2 separate regions of the Homo sapiens genome follow, and region 2 is linked to region 1. Evidence: promoter capture Hi-C in 16 types of primary human blood cells and fetal thymus (Javierre and others, 2016). All regions are on one chromosome and are shown on one strand. The core of a region is centred on a gene start or on the middle of the fragment in contact, and the rest is flanking DNA. Distances in the headings are between cores, read along the strand shown.

Region 1 (4,653 bases), core at 1,378-3,877:
TTCTCCTCTTGTAAAATGGAATAAAAATGGCAACCACCTTCACAGGGTTGTAATAAAGATTGAGCTAATATATGTTAAAATGTTTAGAGCAGTGTAATGCACACAGCATATGCTTCATGTGTGTTGGTGTCTATAACTCCCTCTCTGTCCACTCCTTATCTTCTTCTCATGAGCCCTGTCAGGACTAAGATTATCTTTCTCTTTGTAAACTTAGCCTGTGGCAAGCCTCACCTATATTCTAACTCTTTCCCTATGGGACTATACACATTCTCTTCTGTAAGCTTCCTGAGTTGTTTACAATCTGATTTTATCAACCTTTATCTGATTTCTTAAACCTAGACTTGTTCATTCTTTATGGCATAATAATTATGGTTTCTTTTTCTCCCTAATCTTCTTCCTCAAGGGACCTCAAGCTTTTCTCTTAAGACTTTCAACTGATCCAATGAGTCTGACCCATATTATGGAGGTAATCTGTTTTACTCAAATTTTACTGATTTAAATGTTAATCACATTTAAAACAAACAAACAAACAACAACTTCACAGCAACTTCTAAACTGTTGTTTTTCCAAAAAGTGGGCACCATGCCTAGCTAAGCTAACAAATAAAAGTAACCATCACAGCAGTCATGGCCTGAATAAGACTTGTCCTAGGCCAGGCACAGTGGCTCACACCTGTAATCCCAGCAATTTGGGAGGCCGAGGCAGGTGGATCACTTGAGGTCAGGAATGTAAGATCAGCTTGGCCAACATGGTGAAACCCCATCTCTACCAAAAATACAAAAATTAGCCGGGTATGGTGGCACCTGCCTATAATCCCCACTACTCGGGTGGCTGAGGCATGAGAATTTCCTGAACCCGGGAGGTGGAGGCTGCAGTGAGCTGAGATCATGCCACTGCACTCCAGCCTGGATGAGTGAGATTCTGTCTCAAAAAAAAAAGATTGTCCTGTACATTGTAGGTATTGCAGTTTCCTGCTAGCTCACAGAAGAACAGCCTCATTACCTTCAATAGATGCTCTTAACCCATCGTCATCTGCCTTCCTCTGGACACTGCCTTTTGGGAGTGCTGGAGTTGCATCCTCAAGGACAGGGCTATGCCTTCAAAGAGCCAAGCAAAGAACTTTTCCTGCATTTTCCCACACAGACACTTCCTAGATTCTTCTGCCTTATGCCTGCCTTGGTCAGTGTAGCTAGGATGTGCTTCAAATGGAAATTATGCAAGTGAGAAGGACCAGGTGTAAAGACAATTTAATTGTGGGAAAAGGCTTACAAAGGAAGGTCATTGTGACCCTCACAAGCAGTGTTCTTGAGTGGATAGGACATAAACAGGGAAGAAAGCATGTGATCATGAGAACAGCTGAAGTTCTGAGTGAGCAATGACATGAATGGTGTCCAATTCAAAGAAAAGAGAAGGTAGATCCAGGAGCTGAATAAACAGACAGAGCAATTTTGAGAGATACATCCAGAAAGCAGAAGCACACACTTACACTTTAGCTCTGAATCCTGGCTAAAGCAACATACAGAGGCGGTAACTCCTAGAACTCTGATTTTCACTCTGTTGCCAGAGAGGCTCTTCCTGGGCAGCTGTGTGCCATGCAAATGATAGAAACAAATCCCATAGTATTGTAAGTCATAGGTTAAGGAGCAGATTTAATTTCATAAGGAGAAATAACACAATGCCAGTGTCAGCAAGAGCAAGTCTCCCCATCATCCCAAGGAGAGGAATTCTACAACCTGGGTATCTACTGGACATAATGTGGGCTCCATTCTCACAGAAGGAATCCTTTCCACTGTGGTTCTTCCTGTGTGGCTTACGCATGAGACAAGTGTAAGAAAGTGGCCATGTCAATAAGAAAATAAGCCAGCTCTTTGGTGCCAAGAAGTCTGATTTGGGGGTGCCAGCTATTTATAGGAATTGTCTAGAATTAAAATATCACCCTGCCTTGGGGATTGTGGGGCAGCTGGGGATCTTGGACATCTGCAGTATATTGCAACCACACCTGAAATTAAGAAGGACTCAATGACAATAAACATCTTTACATCACCCAGTGTCTTGAACTCACTTCCCCATCATGTAGAGCAGCTCAGGTCTTCTCTAGCTCTTCCACCTCATGATGGGTAGTGACTGCTAGGGAAGTCCTGATCATCCTAGCCCTCCAAGAAATGTTTTGAATAGCATTGCATCTTGAACTCACTATAATTTGATCAAGCAAAGATGTTCTATGTCTCTGGTCTGAAACCTGCCACCACAGCTGTGTTCTCTGCTTTCAGAGACCAGGGGAGCAGTGACTGAAGCTAAGACTACACATAGCACTTCAGACAGGCAAATTAGGAGGGAAAAGAAAACTGAATCTGTAAACTCGGGAAAAACTGGTGTATCTTTTGAGGTCCCAGCCATTTTGAGAAACTCTGATGCTGAAAAAATAAGGAAGAACAATCTGACTCCTCTCTCAAACGCTGACATTCTAGCTGAGTGTTGATTTTTTCTTAGAAAAACAAACTTTGGGTCAACAAGGAAAGATCACGAGTGGGGAGGGTGAATGGGTGATTCACCTCATGGATCTCCCTGGCAGCTCTTGCACTTCCTTGATCAATCTGTATATAAGAAATGTGCTGGGCACCTGGGACACCACTTCTCTGGGACACATTGCCTTCTGTTTTCTCCAGCATGCGCTTGCTCCAGCTCCTGTTCAGGGCCAGCCCTGCCACCCTGCTCCTGGTTCTCTGCCTGCAGTTGGGGGCCAACAAAGCTCAGGACAACACGTGAGCCATGCCCTTCTCCTCCCCACAAAAAAAATTGCAGGGAGGGCTCCTCTCCCAGTCTGGAAATTACATATCTCTTTCTGAGAATTTCTTTCAACTTCCCAGAACTCTAGTCCCAGGAGCTCCCATGGATCTCCTGCCAGGTTCCACTTCTTGTCCTCTTAGGAAGCCCCACCAACTCCTCTCACATTTTTGCTGGGTGTTTCTGCATTGCCAGTGGAAATAAAGCTCCAAATGTACCTACAGGCTGTAATTAGTAGTTAGTCTTCATCTAACATGCTGATCCACATCTTGTTCATAATTTATACCTTTGTTCAGATTTCTGCTCAGTAAACTTTACCTTCTCACACCTTGCCTCCTAGAAGAGAAGCATAACAGGTCTGTGAATTCCAATGGCAGCTTAGGGCAGCTTTGGCAGGACTGGCTAAAGGACCAGAGGCCCTGGCCACTGCCCTGTGGTCTGAGATTGAGCTAGACTGGCAGCTTAGACATTCTTCCTAACCTGAAGTCTGAAGATGAATATGATGACCTCTTGCTCTCACGTATACTGGGACCTGAGAGCACAGGTTCAGAAGTCAACTTATTGAGAACACATGTGTGAAGGAAGCAGAAAAATTGGAGCAAGTAAAATAAAGTAGAAAATGGAGCCAAGGGTCTGGGAGAAAGCAGCGATACCCAATCTAGGGAGTTTTCTCTATAGCAGTAGGGTTTATAATGCTGGGTTTCTGGGTTGTGATCTTGGAGGTACTCTCTATGGCATGGTCAGATATCCTGTCCTGGAGGAAACTGTTCAGGGTTTTGACAAGCTAATGTAATGGAGGCAAGTGTCCCAAGAAACCCTGCATGGGGACAGGTTCAGATCCCACCCCATTCCCGCCAGATGACAGTCCACTTAGCCCTGAAGGGCAGCAAGGTATTCAAATAAGCTATGCTAATTAGGTTATCAACCATCCATCCTGATTTGCCCAGAACTTTCCTGGTTGTAGCACTGCAACTCTGCCCTCCCCCGCCACCTCCACAACCCATTCTGGAAAAGACCTCAGTCCTGGGTAAACTGAGATGGTTAGTCACTCGAACTAAGCTGGTCATCCTATCAATCTGAAACTCATATACAAATGGGAGAGATTTTGAAGTTGCTTAGGTATTTATACCCTTTTCCTGTGCACTGGGCACTACAGCAGTTGGCACCAAAAAATAGAATCTCTCTAAGATGCTTTGCCCCAAGAAAATGGGGCTGTGAGACACTGTGGGCTAAGAATCTCAATTCCCTTCTGTCCCACACAATAACAAAGGTCCGTAGCCGGGAGTTTCTAGGGACGAGAAAATAACTCTCCTGGCCCCGAACCCAGTCCTCATTGACTGAAGAAGAACATTTGACCATTTTATTTGTCTCCATTTCCTTTCCTTTTCAGATTGCAGTGTATGGTCTAAATGTAGAGTAGTATCTAAAGTTCCCAAACATGGCCATATGTCCAAATTTCCTAAGGAGCTAAATAAATACAAATTCCTAAACCCTACCTGGGGACCACAGAAGGAGGATCTTCAAAGATGCTCCTACAAATACCTCCAGTGCATTGAGATGTTTGCTGGGTTTTTAAAATTTTTTATTATTTTATTTTATTTTTCCATAAGTTACTGGGGTACAAGTGGTATTTGGTTACATGAGTAAGTTCTTTAGTGGTGATGAGATTTTGGTGCACCCATCACCCGAGCAGTATACACTGCACCATATTTGTAGTCTTTTAGCCCTCACCCCTCTCCCACTCTTCCCCGCAAGTCCCCAAAGTCCATTGTATCATTCTTATGCTTTTGAGTCCTCAAAGCTTAGCTCCCACATATCAGTGAGAACATACGATGTTTGGTTTTCCATTACTGAGTTACTTCACTTAGA
Region 2 (4,653 bases), core at 1,121-3,620, 200 kb before region 1:
TGCCTCTTTCTTCTGCATTATACCCTTAGATGCAAAGGTCTAAACAGCTTGTTTATGTGGGTGTCTCAAGGCAAAACAGGTTGAGATACTCATTCTACAGGACCTCTGTTAATCTTTGCTTCTACCATACCCAGATTTGAACCCAGAAAGAGATAAAGCTGGAGCCTCTCCAACTAGACATATGTGTATTGGCCCCAAAGGCAAGCACATGGTGTAGGGGGAAGAACAGAAAGGACAGGCCGATGAGTGGCTCCTCTGAGGTCCCCACCTCCAAATCCCTCTCTTCCAATAGCCCCAGGAGCCAGGGCGAAAAAGTGTTTTTATTTTATTTATTTATTTTTTTTGAGACGAAGTCTCACTCTATTGCCCAGACTGGAGTGCAGTGGTGCGATCTCGGCTCACTGCAACTTCCGCCTCCTGGGTTCAAGTGATTCTCCTGCCTCAGCCTCCCGAGTAGCTGGGACTACAGGTGCCCACCACCATGCCTGACTAGTTTTTTTATTTTTGGTAGAGACGGGGTTTCAGCATGTTGGCCAGGCTGCTCTCGAACTCCTGACCTCAGGTGATCCACCCATCTCGGCCTCCCAAAGTGCTGGGATTACAGGTGTGAGCCACCACGCCCAGCCAAAGTGTTTTCATTTAAAGAAGAAGCTTTTAATCTAAAGGTGGGGCCTGGTTTTACCTGTTAAGGCAGTGCTCCTAGGAGGGGCCTTTGTGAGGAGTCAGTTCCCTGCCCCGTCTCACCCAGGGAATCAGTCCCAGGGAGCCTGGTGTCCCTGACCAGCCTAGAGTGGTCAGGGCTGAGATTGCAAATTCACCCCCATCCTGAGGCCACTGCACAAACAAAGTCCTTGCCTCCCTGGCCCTCTATCCCCACTGCCCCTCTGCAGAGGGTCCAAGTTGGGGCTGGAAGCTCACTTTCTCAGAGACCCAGGGGTCCCACTCTAAAGCAGGAAGGTGAGATTCCACTGGAGGTATTGGGTGGGGAGATGAGGAAGCAGAGGGCTTGACAGTATGAGGGCTCAGAGGTACTTGGGACCAGGCCCAGTGTAAACTGCAAATGCAGGACCCCTTGTTCAAAATTATTAAGAACTTGAAGATGAGGACAGCAGGGCATTGAACAAAGCACAGGAATCTTCTGGAGTACAGGGGAGCCCTTTGTGACTGCTAATGTCTGCTCAACAACCTCACCCCTCAGGCAGCTGTTGGGTGGGAGGCAAGCCCCAAAACACTTGGAGGAAGAAGCAGCCCACAGGATTCGTCCCTGCCCCAGCTGCTCTTCCTGGGACTGGACCTCAGGGCTAAGCCATGAAATGATTTACCTGCAGGTGTGCTAGCCCTGCCCGAACTAAGAGCTCTCCAGGAGCAGGCACAAGTCTCATTCAATCTTTATGTCATTGGGATCTAACACCCCTCTGCACACAGTAGACTCAATAAAAGGCAGATGGACTGAACTCAGAGCCCTCCAGTGTCACCTGAGCTGCCCTCCTCCACTGGTCAGCACCCAGTGTTACACCAAACAAAGCGCTCCTCCCCTTTCCCACACAGTCCACTTTCATTCAAATGAATGGCGTTTCCTTATCGTGCTTCCACCACCCACAGGAGTGCATCCCTTCTTCAGCAGCCTGCTTCTGCCTTCCCTCCCCATCCCACACAACCTGGCTTCTTCCCTCTGGTCCTTTTTGGTCCTTTCACTCCCCCTTGGCTGTCATTCTGCCTCTGTCCTTAGGTCTACCCTCAAGATTTTCCTGTGTGGCCCAAAGCCACATCCTCCACCGCCACTAAAAGGGGCCAGCTGGGATTCTGTAATTAGGTGGGCTGGAAGGAAAGGGTATGTCTGAGTGACTGGCACTGACAATACACTTCTAGGGTGCTGTATTCGGAAAGCAGGCCCAGGTGGGTCAGAGGGTCTGAGGATCACGGCGGTAGGGCCACGGATCGTTCTAGGAAGCCTACCTCTTCTGCTGCAGCATATGAAGCTTGTCCAGGTGCTGGTCCCAGTCTTGTTCTCTGACCAGAAAGGAGGGCAGAAGTTTCTGGAGTTGGCTCCCGGGCCCTTCTGCCTTAGGTAGAAAACCCCCCATGTCTTCTCCTTGCAGACACTGGCAGATTATAGAAATGTGGCGAAAGAAACAGGTCTAGGATGACAGCAACTGAGCAAGAGATGGGGTCTATTTGGGGCTGGGACTCTGAGTTTATCTCCTGTATGACTTGTGTATGCAGCATGCAGCTTGTAGGTGTGTGTGTGTGCATGCAGTATGTGGGTTGTGGGGTGTGCGTGTATGCACAGTGTGTGGCTGTGGTGTATGTGTGTGCATGCAGTGTGTGGTTGTGAGGTGGTGTGTGTGCATGCAGGTGCGCTGAGGGGACTGACCGCCCTGCCTGGGGAGAAGTGCTTTTCCTGGAGGGGGAGGAGCTCTTTGCAGAGCTGAGCCCCACAGCCACAGAACCACCCTGGGGAAGAAAAGGAGGAGGGGAAGGAAGGTTCCTAACTGTGGGCTGGGATGGCTGAGACCCGAGAAGCTAAGAGGTGGGGCAGAGGAATTTGGAAAAAGAAAAGGGATGGAAGGTGGGTCCACAAACAAGGTGCACAGTTAGTTGCATGAGGGAGAGGAGGAAATAAAGACTTCCAGCTCAAGAGTCAGGCAGAGCCTGGTTCAAATCCTGACTCTTATCCCTTACAGTTAGGTGAGCTTTCTGAGCCTCAGTTCCTAACCTGTGAAATTGGGGTAACGGCTATGCCGTCTCACGGGAGCATCTGTAAAGCATGTGTCACAAGTACTCAATCACTGCCGATCCTCCTTCCACAAGAGGGCTCAAGAGACCCCCGGGCTGCTTCTCAGAGCTTCCCATTTATGTGTCTTGTGGTCATCTCTGTCCTCAACCCTGTACCTCAAAGGAGGGTTTCTGACCCCCACTTCCCAGGCCAATCCCTCTCTGTGAGAAGTCCTCATGACCGTGACCGGCCAGCTTCCTGGAGCGTCGCCGAGCAGGCTCTGGTACCTGGGGACGCAGGTCAGAGGAGCCCCCAGGGGCCTCGAGTTATTATGGAGGTTGAACAGCAGAAACTGAGCAAAGGTAGACGACAAATAAATCGTGATTCCATGTTTGGGACTCTTTCCAGGAATGAAACACCAGGAGGAATAAGTAATGTTGCACTATTTTATATATTTTATATTATATTTTATATATTAAGTAGTTTCCCTTATCCACAGTTTCACTCTCTGATGGTTCAGTTACCTAAGGTCAGCCACAGTTGGAAAATAGGTGAGTACAGTACTATAACATATTTTGAGAGACAGAGAGAAAGAGAACATTCACATAACTTTATATTATTATAATTTTCATTTTATTGTTGTTAAACTCTTTTTTTTTTTTTTTTGAGACAGAGTTTCACTTTCGTTGCCCAGGCTGGAGAGCAATGGTGTGATCTTGGCTCACTGCAACATCCACCTTCCAGGTTCAAGTTATTCTCCTGCCGCAGCCTCCCTAGTAGCTGGGATTACAGGTGCCCACCACCACGCCTGGCTAATTTTTGTATTTTTAGTAGAGACAGGGTTTTACCATGTTGGCCAGGCTAGTCTCGAACTCCTGACCTCAGGTGATCTGCTTGCCTCGGCCTCCTGAAGTGCTGGGATTACAGGCGTGAGTCACTATGCCCGGCCTAAACTCTTCACTGTGCCTAATGTATAAATTAAACTTCATCATATGTATGTATGTATGTATGTATGTATGTATGTATGTATGTATGTATGTACGTGTAGGAAAAAAGATAGTATATACAGGGTTTGGTGCTATCTAAGGTTCCTGGCATCCACTGGGGCGTCTTGGAATGTATCCCCTGAGGATAAAAGGTGACTACTGTATATGATAGCTTGTATTTATGTTCTCATTTTTTTTATTATTATACTTTAAGTTCTAGGGTACATGTGCACAATATGCAGGTTTGTTACATATGTATACATGTGCCATGTTGGTGTGCTGCACCCATTAACTGTCATTTACATTAGGTATATCTCCTAATGTATCCCTCCCCCCTCCCCCAACCCCACGACAGGTCCTGGTGTGTGATGTTCCCCTTCCTGTGTCCAAGTGTTCTCATTGTTCAATTCTGTTCTCATTGTTTTCAAAGAGGTACATCAATATTATTGAATTGCATTCACTCAATAGACCTATCAGGTAAATGAGAACAAGGAAGAATTCCGTCTGTGAGAATTCTTGGGTGTGCTGGCCCCAAGTCCCATGGCTAGTGGCGAGACTGTAACTGGCCATGAACTTGGGATCTCAGCTCCAAACCACTCTCCAGACCTTGTTGCTTCTTGGGAATCTTTTGGCTGTAAAGGTGTGAGAGACCAGCGTGAGGATACGCTGGGACTCTCCCTCTGGGGGTCTTGAGGAGTGGGGACTGCCCCCTTCTTTTGTTGTAAGAAAGAGAGATCTGCTCCCAAGATTGAGGGATGGACAAAATAACCTTTAGAGAAGGACAAGAATTGAAAGGAAAATAAATAAGGAAACTAAGAGGAGCTAGTGTTCATTGATGTTTCAAAAGGGGGAAAATTTGGATCTTTTTCTTATTAAAAGCCAAAAGGAAAAGTTAAGTAAAAAAAAAAAAAGATACAGTGGAATTATGTTCTCACTGGGAGTGGGGAGGGC

Evidence for each region. Contacts are between HindIII fragments. The CHiCAGO score rates a contact against its expected background, and 5 or more counts as called.
Region 2: the fragment with the promoter of TRPV5 here is called in contact with the fragment with the promoter of PIP in region 1 in 10 of 17 cell types (total B cells, monocytes, activated CD4 T cells and 7 more); the score reaches 10.6 in total B cells.

What each region holds. Positions count from the first base shown.
Region 1 is chr7:143,129,450-143,134,102 of GRCh38, forward strand. PIP (prolactin induced protein) reads left to right here and starts at 2,628. Exons shown (of 4, transcript NM_002652.3): 1 at 2,628-2,762. The coding sequence starts at 2,668. The HindIII fragment of the contact is 4,172 bases long and covers 412-4,583 here.
Region 2 is chr7:142,931,376-142,936,028 of GRCh38, forward strand. TRPV5 (transient receptor potential cation channel subfamily V member 5) reads right to left here and starts at 2,371. Exons shown (of 15, transcript NM_019841.7): 1 at 1,957-2,371. The coding sequence starts at 2,084. LOC105375542 (a long non-coding RNA gene) reads right to left here. Exons shown (of 2, transcript XR_928065.1): 2 at 4,352-4,471. The HindIII fragment of the contact is 14,618 bases long and covers 1,978-4,653 here.